Regions from separate parts of the Homo sapiens genome. Here region 2 is linked to region 1. The links are contacts of gene promoters, found by promoter capture Hi-C in human tissues and cell types (Jung and others, 2019). All regions are on one chromosome and are shown on one strand. The core of a region is centred on a gene start or on the middle of the fragment in contact, and the rest is flanking DNA. Distances in the headings are between cores, read along the strand shown.

What was found. The method cuts DNA at HindIII sites, captures the fragments that hold promoters and counts their contacts. A contact is called where the count stands out against the background at its distance.
Region 2: the fragment with the promoter of CA11 here is called in contact with the fragment with the promoter of FKRP in region 1 in 1 of the 25 tissues and cell types used here (IMR-90 fibroblasts).

Annotation. Positions count from the first base shown.
Region 1 is chr19:46,743,488-46,747,482 of GRCh38, reverse strand. It overlaps FKRP (fukutin related protein), which reads right to left and starts at 1,426. Exons shown (of 4, transcript NM_024301.5): 1 at 1,393-1,426. It overlaps STRN4 (striatin 4), which reads left to right and starts at 1,033. Exons shown (of 18, transcript NM_013403.3): 1 at 1,033-1,334. The coding sequence starts at 1,053. RefSeq lists silencers at 608-657, 698-797, 838-987, 998-1,047, 1,258-1,487. The HindIII fragment of the contact is 7,098 bases long and covers 1-3,567 here.
Region 2 is chr19:48,644,007-48,648,171 of GRCh38, reverse strand. It overlaps CA11 (carbonic anhydrase 11), which reads left to right and starts at 1,985. Exons shown (of 9, transcript NM_001217.5): 1 at 1,985-2,606; 2 at 2,695-2,769; 3 at 3,603-3,745. The coding sequence starts at 2,540. It also overlaps the pseudogene SEC1P. RefSeq lists silencers at 1,367-1,776, 1,807-1,996 and enhancers at 1,954-2,654, 2,655-3,355, 3,356-4,057. The HindIII fragment of the contact is 19,792 bases long and covers 1-4,165 here.

The DNA.
Region 1 (3,995 bases), core at 177-2,676:
GGCGGAGGTTGTGGTGAGCCGAGATTGGGCCATTGCATCCCAGCCTGGGCAACAAGAGTTACACTCTGTCTCAAAAAAAAAAAAAAAAAAAAAAATCCCCTCCTTTGTTGGGCTTGGTTCCTAGGGTCACTCGAAGGGGGCTGCTCTATTATCATAGTAACCAGGCCTTGAACTTGCCTGTTTCTCACCTTCCGGAGGAAGGTCCAGGCCCTGTAACCATAGCAACTGCCCCTCAGCAGAGCATCTCCTCTAAATAAAAACACCTGGTTAGTTTGGTGCATGGGCCTCCCACGATGGGAAGGGGAAGACGGTTACCATGGTAATGCCAACTAGGTGGCTATGGGGGAGGGGCTGGGGAAGAGGTGCTTCTCTTAGAGATCAGTGTCCTTGGGGCTGGGGTCCTTTCTACCTGAATGCTAGGTGGGGGGGAGGTTGCCATAGTAATCAATGAGGATAGGAGCAGAAGGACCACCACGGACACTTAGGTTACCTTAGCAACCTTCTCCTGGTGCAGAGTCCTAAGAGGTTTGGGGCTCCATAACCACAAAGGTGGAAGCGAGGGGAAGGCTGCTCCCCACCACCTCGCCCCCACCGCTGGGGAAGGGTTACCATGACAACCAACCTGGCCGGCAATCAGAGAGGATGGGGCCACTGCTGGTCGCCCTTTCTCTCAGAGTAAAAGTAATTGTCCAGGAGAGTGGTGTTTGGGTGTGGAAGGGGTAAGGCTCTTTCTCTGGGGCGAAGTGGGAGGAGGGGGGCAGAAAGCGGCCCCTTCCTCAGTCTCACTCCAGCGAGGGGGACCGTCGCGCGGGGCCTGGGTCTCCCTCGCCCTCCTCGGGGCGCGATCTCCCACCCGCCGGCCCCCGCGCGGGCACGCTACCCTTCGGTGTAGACCCGGGTGGGCGAGGCTCGCGCTCGCCGCCGGCCCCCCTTCCTACTGTCCCCCGCCGGGCGCGCGCGCGGTGGTTGCGGCGGGGGAGGGGGGGGGGTGTTGGCGCGGCCGCGCAGGCGCGCGAGGCACAGCGGGCGCGCAGGCCGGCCCCGGGGCCTCCATGATGGAGGAGCGAGCGGCCGCCGCGGTCGCCGCCGCCGCCTCCTCCTGCCGTCCGCTCGGCTCAGGCGCGGGCCCTGGCCCCACTGGGGCGGCCCCGGTCTCCGCCCCTGCCCCCGGGCCGGGCCCGGCAGGTAAGGGAGGCGGCGGCGGAGGCAGCCCCGGGCCCACGGCGGGCCCGGAGCCCCTGAGCCTGCCGGGGATCCTGCACTTTATCCAGCACGAGTGGGCGCGCTTCGAAGCCGAGAAAGCCCGCTGGGAGGCCGAGCGCGCCGAGTTACAGGTGAGCGCTGTCCCGGGACCCCCGACCCCCAACCCGGCCCGGCCCGGCCCGGCCTCACCCGCTGCCGCCGCCGCCGCCATCTTGGAGCAATGGCCGCCGGGACGGCCGGCGGGGGGGCGGGAGGGGACCGCGACGGTCCCGGAGGGCGAGTGAGGGGCCGTCCGAGGGGTGTCCTGAGGGCACTCCGGGGTGGGACGGGACCGGGACGGCCCGAGGTGGGAGTGGAGGGACCGGGGGTGGGAGGGATCACCGGGACCGGCCGAGAGAAAGGGGCGGAGGGACCACAACCAGCTGGGAGTGGGACTGGGACTGGGACTGAGCACGCTGGCCGCGGGGCTCCTGAGAGAGGCGACTCGAGCCCTGGAGGGGAGGCTAAGAGAACTCGGGAAAGGGTGTGGAGAGGAGCTGGAGGGGTCTGGGAGACCTGAGTGGTCTCCTGTGGGAGTAAGCAGAAGCTTGCCGGGCGCCGAGGGACTCCCGACCCCGACCCCGACCATGGCCCTAGCCAGGTGCAGGTTGGAGGTGGGAGCGTCCAAGGGGGGAACTTGGGACCCGCTGGGAAAGAGCGGGTCCAGATGGGGAACCGGGAGGATTTAGGGAGAGGAAGTCGGGAACCTGGGATCGGTGTGTTTCGGGGCGACTGGACGGTGGGCACGGAAGGAGGGCTGTGTAAGGACCCGAGGGGTGGGAGGAGGGTTTCAAGGGGTCCAGGATGAAGGTGTGTGCCTTCCCCTCTGAGGAGAAACTTTGGGGATCCCGGGCATGTGTGGCTGCACAGTGCAGGGAAGGGTTCTTTGGAGTGGAAGTGTGGACAGAGCAGGGAATGTACCCTAGGAGCCTGGATGGGAGAGCTTAAGAGTGGAAGTTCCACTTTGGGGGTGTGCAGGAGTGGGCGCGATGGCACTGAGATGGCACGTGTGTTGTAGGATGTAGGTAGAGAGCCCTGAACTGGAGTGTGGGGTGTTGGGCATGTCCAGTATGGAGGTGAGGGTCCTGGGATGGTGCCAATGAGGACGAGTTAGGGGTTACCCTGGGGTGATGCTTTAGGGGGGAGAATTTTGTAGAGCCCGAAGGCAACATGAGGAGGCATCTCGGAACGGGGGTAGACTGGGGTTGGGGGGAAGGGGATATGTTTGTGGAAGTCTTGGGAAAAGACCCCGTGGTTTTTGGGGTAGCTTGGGACAGGGATGTTGAATGGAAGAGTCTGAGGAGTTGGGCTAGGGTTTGTGACCTCGTGGAGCGTCAGGTCCATTGGCAGTGACTGGAGGACCATGGAGATGTCCGGATTTGAAGGGATCAGGAATGGCCCGCTGGAAGTCTGAAGATTCTTGGACTGGGTTATTATTAGCAGAAATTGTCATTACCTGCTTGTAGCAGCCCACCTTTCCCCTTCCGATTTGCCGTTTGCTATCTAGTAGGAAGCTGGTACCCAAATAAATAGCTGATGAGAATTGTGTCGGTAGGGATGGGGTGCGGTGGCTCACGCCTGTAATCCCAACACTTGGGGAGGTTGAGGTGGGAGAATCCCTTGAGCCCAGGAGTTCGAGGCCAGCCTGGCCAACATAGCAAGACCTCATCTCTACAAAAAAGTACAAAAATTAGCCGGGTGTGGTGACATGCGCCTGTAGTCCCAGCTACTCAGGAGGCTGAGGTGGGAGGATTGCTTAAACCCCGGAGGTTGAGGCTGCGGTGAGCCATGATTGCACCACTGCACTCCAGCCTGGGCAAAAGAGTGAGATCCTGTCTCAAAAAAAAGCATTTTGTTCATAGGATGAGTAAAGACCCTCCAGTAACTCTCCCCCTGCCCTCACTTGTGGTGGCTGAGGCTTGGGGCTGGGATGGGAGCAGAATCCTTATGTAACTGCTCTCACTTCTGTCCCACTCTCTACTTCCGAAGCTCTTTCCCAGCATACATCTCATCAGATCTTCACAATGCCCTGTGATGTAGGCAGAGGCAGTGTCATTACCTCACTCAGCAATAACGGTACCAGCTGCAATTTAGTGAGCACATACCATGTCTGGGGCGCTGTATCAAGTACTGTAGATACGAGCTGTCATTTAATTCTTGCAGCATTCTGGGAGGATAAAGGATATTCCCCCTACCTTTAAAAAAAATCAGGAGAGGAAATGGAGGTTTTGAGAGGGTGATTTATCTAGGATCCCAGCAGATGAGCAGAAGGGCTGGTCTGTGGTGGACCTTTTGTTTATTTATTTATTTATTTATTTATTTTTATTTTTATTTTTTTGAGACAGAGTCTCACTCTGTCACCCAGGGTGGAGTGCAGTGGCATGATCTTGGCTCATTGCAACCACTGCCTCCCAGGTTCAAGCGATTCTCCTGCCTCAGCCTCGCAAGTAGCTGGGATTACAGGTGTGCACCACCACCACGCCTGGCTGATTTTTGTATTTTTAGTAGAGATGGGGTTTTGCCACGTTGGTCAGGCTGGTTTCGAACTCCTGGCCTCAAGAGATCCACCTGCCTCGGCCTCCCAAAGTGCTGGGATTACAGGCATAAGCCACCATGCCCGACCGTCGGTAGACTTTTAAGCCCATGTTCTGTACCTCTCTGCTACCCAGTACAGTTGAGAAAATTGGTTCAGGCAAGCATAGTGGCCTCCCCAGGGTCACCCAAGCAGTCATAGCAGAGCTTGGACTGAATCT
Region 2 (4,165 bases), core at 736-3,235, 1.9 Mb before region 1:
AGTGCACTGTTGGGATCTCGGCTCACTGTAGCCTCCACCTACCCGGTTCAAGCGATTCTCCTGTCTCAGCCTCCTGAGTAGCCGGGATTATAGGTGTGTGCCACCACGCTCAGCTAGTTTTTGTATTTTTTAGTAGAAACGGGGTTGCACCATTTTGGTCAGGCTGGTCTTGAACTCCTGACCTCAGGTGATCCACCCACCTCGACCACCCTAAGTGCTGGGATTACAGGCGTGAGCCACCATGCCTGGCTAAGTTTTTATGTATTTAGTAGAGATGGCATTTGGCCATGTTGGCCGGGCTGGTCTCAGTCTCCTGGCCTCAAGTGATCCATCCACCTTGACCTCCCAGAGTTCTGGGATTACAGGTGTGAGCCACCATGCTCAGTCTGTGTGTGTGTTTCTATGTCTCTCCCTCTCTGTGTCTCTCTCCACCTGTACTGATGTATGTGTGTCTCTTTCTATGTCTCTCTGTCTCGTTAATGTTTGGTGTCAGGCTGGACAAGGTGGCTCACACCTGTAATCCCAGCACTTTGGGAGGCCAAGGCAGGAGGATCCCTTGAGCCCAGGGGTTCCGGACCAGCCTGGGCATCATAGCAAGACTACATCTCTACAAAAAATAATTTTTAAAAATTAGCCTGGCATGGTGGCATGTGCCTGTAGTCCCAACTATTTGGGAGGCTGAGGTGGAAGGAGTGTTTAAGCCCAGGAGGTCGAGGCTGGATCAAGCCATGATCGCACCACTGCTCTCCAGCCTGGGTGACATTGCAAGGCTTGTCTCAAAAAAGAAAATAAAAGAAGACAATGAGCAGTTTCACTACCATTAGACGGGGTGAAAAATAATAAATAACAACAACAACAGTAATATGTGGTCTCTCTGAGGCTGGGTATGGTTGTTCATGCCTGTAATCTCAATGCTTTGGGAGGCCAAGGTGGGAGGATCCCTTGAGGACAGGAGTTTGAGACTAGCCTGAGCAACATAGCATGACCCCATCTCTTCTCCCCAAATACAAAAATGTGGTGTCTCTCTCTGTCTTTGGATCGCTCTTTCTCTCTTTTTGTCTCTCCCCACCCCATCTGCTGCTTGGTCTCTGAGTTTCTGTCTATCTCTAAGTGTGTGTCTCTATGTCTCCATGTCTGTCTCGCTGCGTCTCTGTATCTCCTTTTCTGCCTCTATCTGTATCTCTCTCATTCATTCCTTCCTCTCTCCCTCCCCCTCCTCCTCTCCCTCCTCCCCCTCCTCTCCCTCCCCCTCCTCTCCCTCCTCCCCCTCCTCCTTCACCTCCTCCCCCTCCTCCTCACTCCTGCCTGGCGGTTTGTTCTTGCCTCTCTAACCTTCTGTCCCTCCGCCCTTCCTCTCCGTATCCATCTCAGGCTCCCTTCCCCTCCCCAGCCTACGCAGATGTGGGTCCTCACCTCCCGCTCTCCGCCTCTGCCCTCCCGGCTCCTCCTCCCCGCCCCTCTCTCCCTCGCCAGGTCTCTGCCTCCCCCTCCAGGCGAGCAGCCCTCACTGCACTTCAGGCTCCTAGGGGATCCCCCGGCCCCGTTAAGGCAGCCCCAGGCAGAGACCCAGTGGAGCCCTGGGGCGGGGAAGGGGGGCTGCGGGCGCTGGGGCGGCTCCAACCTGGGTCCCAGCGAGCAGGGGGACCCTGCATCCGCCAAGGCCGGCGGCCCCCAGCATGGAGACTTCCGAAGCCACTCCCAGCTCCACCTTAAGCGCCCCCCCTTCCCCTTGCTGCGGAGGATGGAAACAGCCTGCTCCCGGCCCCAGGTGTCCCGGCCACCCCCGCCCGCGTGGCCCCAGCGCGGCTGGGAGCCGAGGACCAGCCCCCTACCTCCTTCCGAATCCTGCCCTTTCGCACATCCCACCCCAAGCCAACCCGAGGAGTGTTTGCCGCTATGAGATCACCTGCTCCCCCAGCCCAACAACAAAATTAAATAACACCACGGGAGAGGAGAGAGGGAGGGGGAGGAGGGAGGAAGGGACAAGAGAGAAGAGAGACTGAAACAGGGAGAAGAGGCAGGAGAGGAGGAGGTGGGGAGAGCACGAAGCTGGAGGCCGACACTGAGGGAGGGCGGGAGGAGGTGAAGAAGGAGAGAGGGGAGAAGAGGCAGGAGCTGGAAAGGAGAGAGGGAGGAGGAGGAGGAGATGCGGGATGGAGACCTGGAGTTAGGTGGCTTGGGAGAGCTTAATGAAAAGAGAACGGAGAGGAGGTGTGGGTTAGGAACCAAGAGGTAGCCCTGGGGGCAGCAGAAGGCTGAGAGGAGTAGGAAGATCAGGAGCTAGAGGGAGACTGGAGGGTTCCGGGAAAAGAGCAGAGGAAAGAGGAAAGACACAGAGAGACGGGAGAGAGAAGAAGAGTGGGTTTGAAGGGCGGATCTCAGTCCCTGGCTGCTTTGGCATTTGGGGAACTGGGACTCCCTGTGGGGAGGAGAGGAAAGCTGGAAGTCCTGGAGGGACAGGGTCCCAGAAGGAGGGGACAGAGGAGCTGAGAGAGGGGGGCAGGGCGTTGGGCAGGGGTCCCTCGGAGGCCTCCTGGGGATGGGGGCTGCAGCTCGTCTGAGCGCCCCTCGAGCGCTGGTACTCTGGGCTGCACTGGGGGCAGCAGGTAAGACCTGGGGTTCCCGGGAGGAGCCCCCGAGGGAGGGTGGAGGTGGGGATGCCAAGGAGAGGGATTCAGGCTGCTCTCTTCCCAGCTCACATCGGACCAGCACCTGACCCCGAGGACTGGTGGAGCTACAAGGATAATCTCCAGGGAAACTTCGTGCCAGGTGCCGCCAAGGCGGGGACCCAGGAGTCCGGCCCTCCCGGCGCCTCCTTCTTCAGACTCAGGAACCTGGGTTCCCAGCTCCCTCCTCCCCCCCAGGACCAGGAGTCCCAGCCCCCTCCTCTGTCCCTCAGGAGTCGGGCCAGCTTCTGAACCCCAGGGGCTCACCATGGGACATTATACATGCGCATTTCAAGTAGTGAGTGGGAGTGAGTGGAAGGAAAGTGTGGGGGTGGAGATTATGTGTGTGTTTGCCGGGAGAGGAAGGTCCTGGCTCCTGCTAGGAACCAGAGGCTGGGTGGCCCCGTCCCCCACCTTGTCCAGCCTTCTCTTGCAGCTCCTCTCCCCAACACATTAATAATAATCCAGCTGTGGGATAAGAGCGATTAAAAAAAAGAACTACAACTCCCACGGGGCTCTGGGGCAGGTAGGCAGCAGAGGGGTAGGCTGGTAGCACTGGGGCCTGCTGGGAGTTGTAGTTCCATCTACAGTGGCTTAAGATGGGTTTGATCGGCTGGGCGCGGTGGCTCACGCTTGAAATCCCAGCACTTTAGGAGGCCGAGGTGGGTGGATTACCTGTGGTCAGGAGTTCAAGACCAGCCTGGCCAACTTGGTGAAACCCGTCTCTGCTAAACTTGGAAACTATTCCAAGATTCTTCTAGGACCCAGAATTCTGGATCTGAGCCCAGTCCTCCCTCAGACCCAGGAGTCTAGGTCCCTAGCCCCTCCTCCCCTGGGATCTGGGAGTCCAGACCACAGCCCACTCAGCAGATACCAGCCCTGGGATCCAGTCTCTATTTCTGACTCCTTGTCCTCCTACTCCGACCCCACCCCCAGGGCCTCCTTTCTGGGGCCTGGTGAATGCAGCGTGGAGTCTGTGTGCTGTGGGGAAGCGGCAGAGCCCCGTGGATGTGGAGCTGAAGAGGGTTCTTTATGACCCCTTTCTGCCCCCATTAAGGCTCAGCACTGGAGGAGAGAAGGTAAGGGGCTTGGAGGGAGGAGCTATTGAACCCACTGGGGATGGGCATGAATAGAGGCTGGGGAATGGGGTGCTGAGGTAGGAGAGCAGCCTTGGGGGAGGAGGGGACACCCAGTGGGTGGAGAGGAGGCTGCTTACACTGTAAAATGGATCACCCATTCTTCCCATCCCAAGCATGGTCCCCTAGTCTCCCCATCTCTGCAGAAGCAATGAAAAGCAGAACATTTCCTGTGCCAGGCAGATTTAAAACCTTGATAAGCCTCTCATCTCATAACCACCCCACAAAATGGGTACAATTATTATTATTGTTATTATTATTATTATTATTTTGAGATGGAGTTTTGCTCTTGTTGCCCAGGCTGGAGTGCAATGATGTGATCTCAGCTCACTGCAACCTCCACCTCCCAGGTTCAAGCGATTC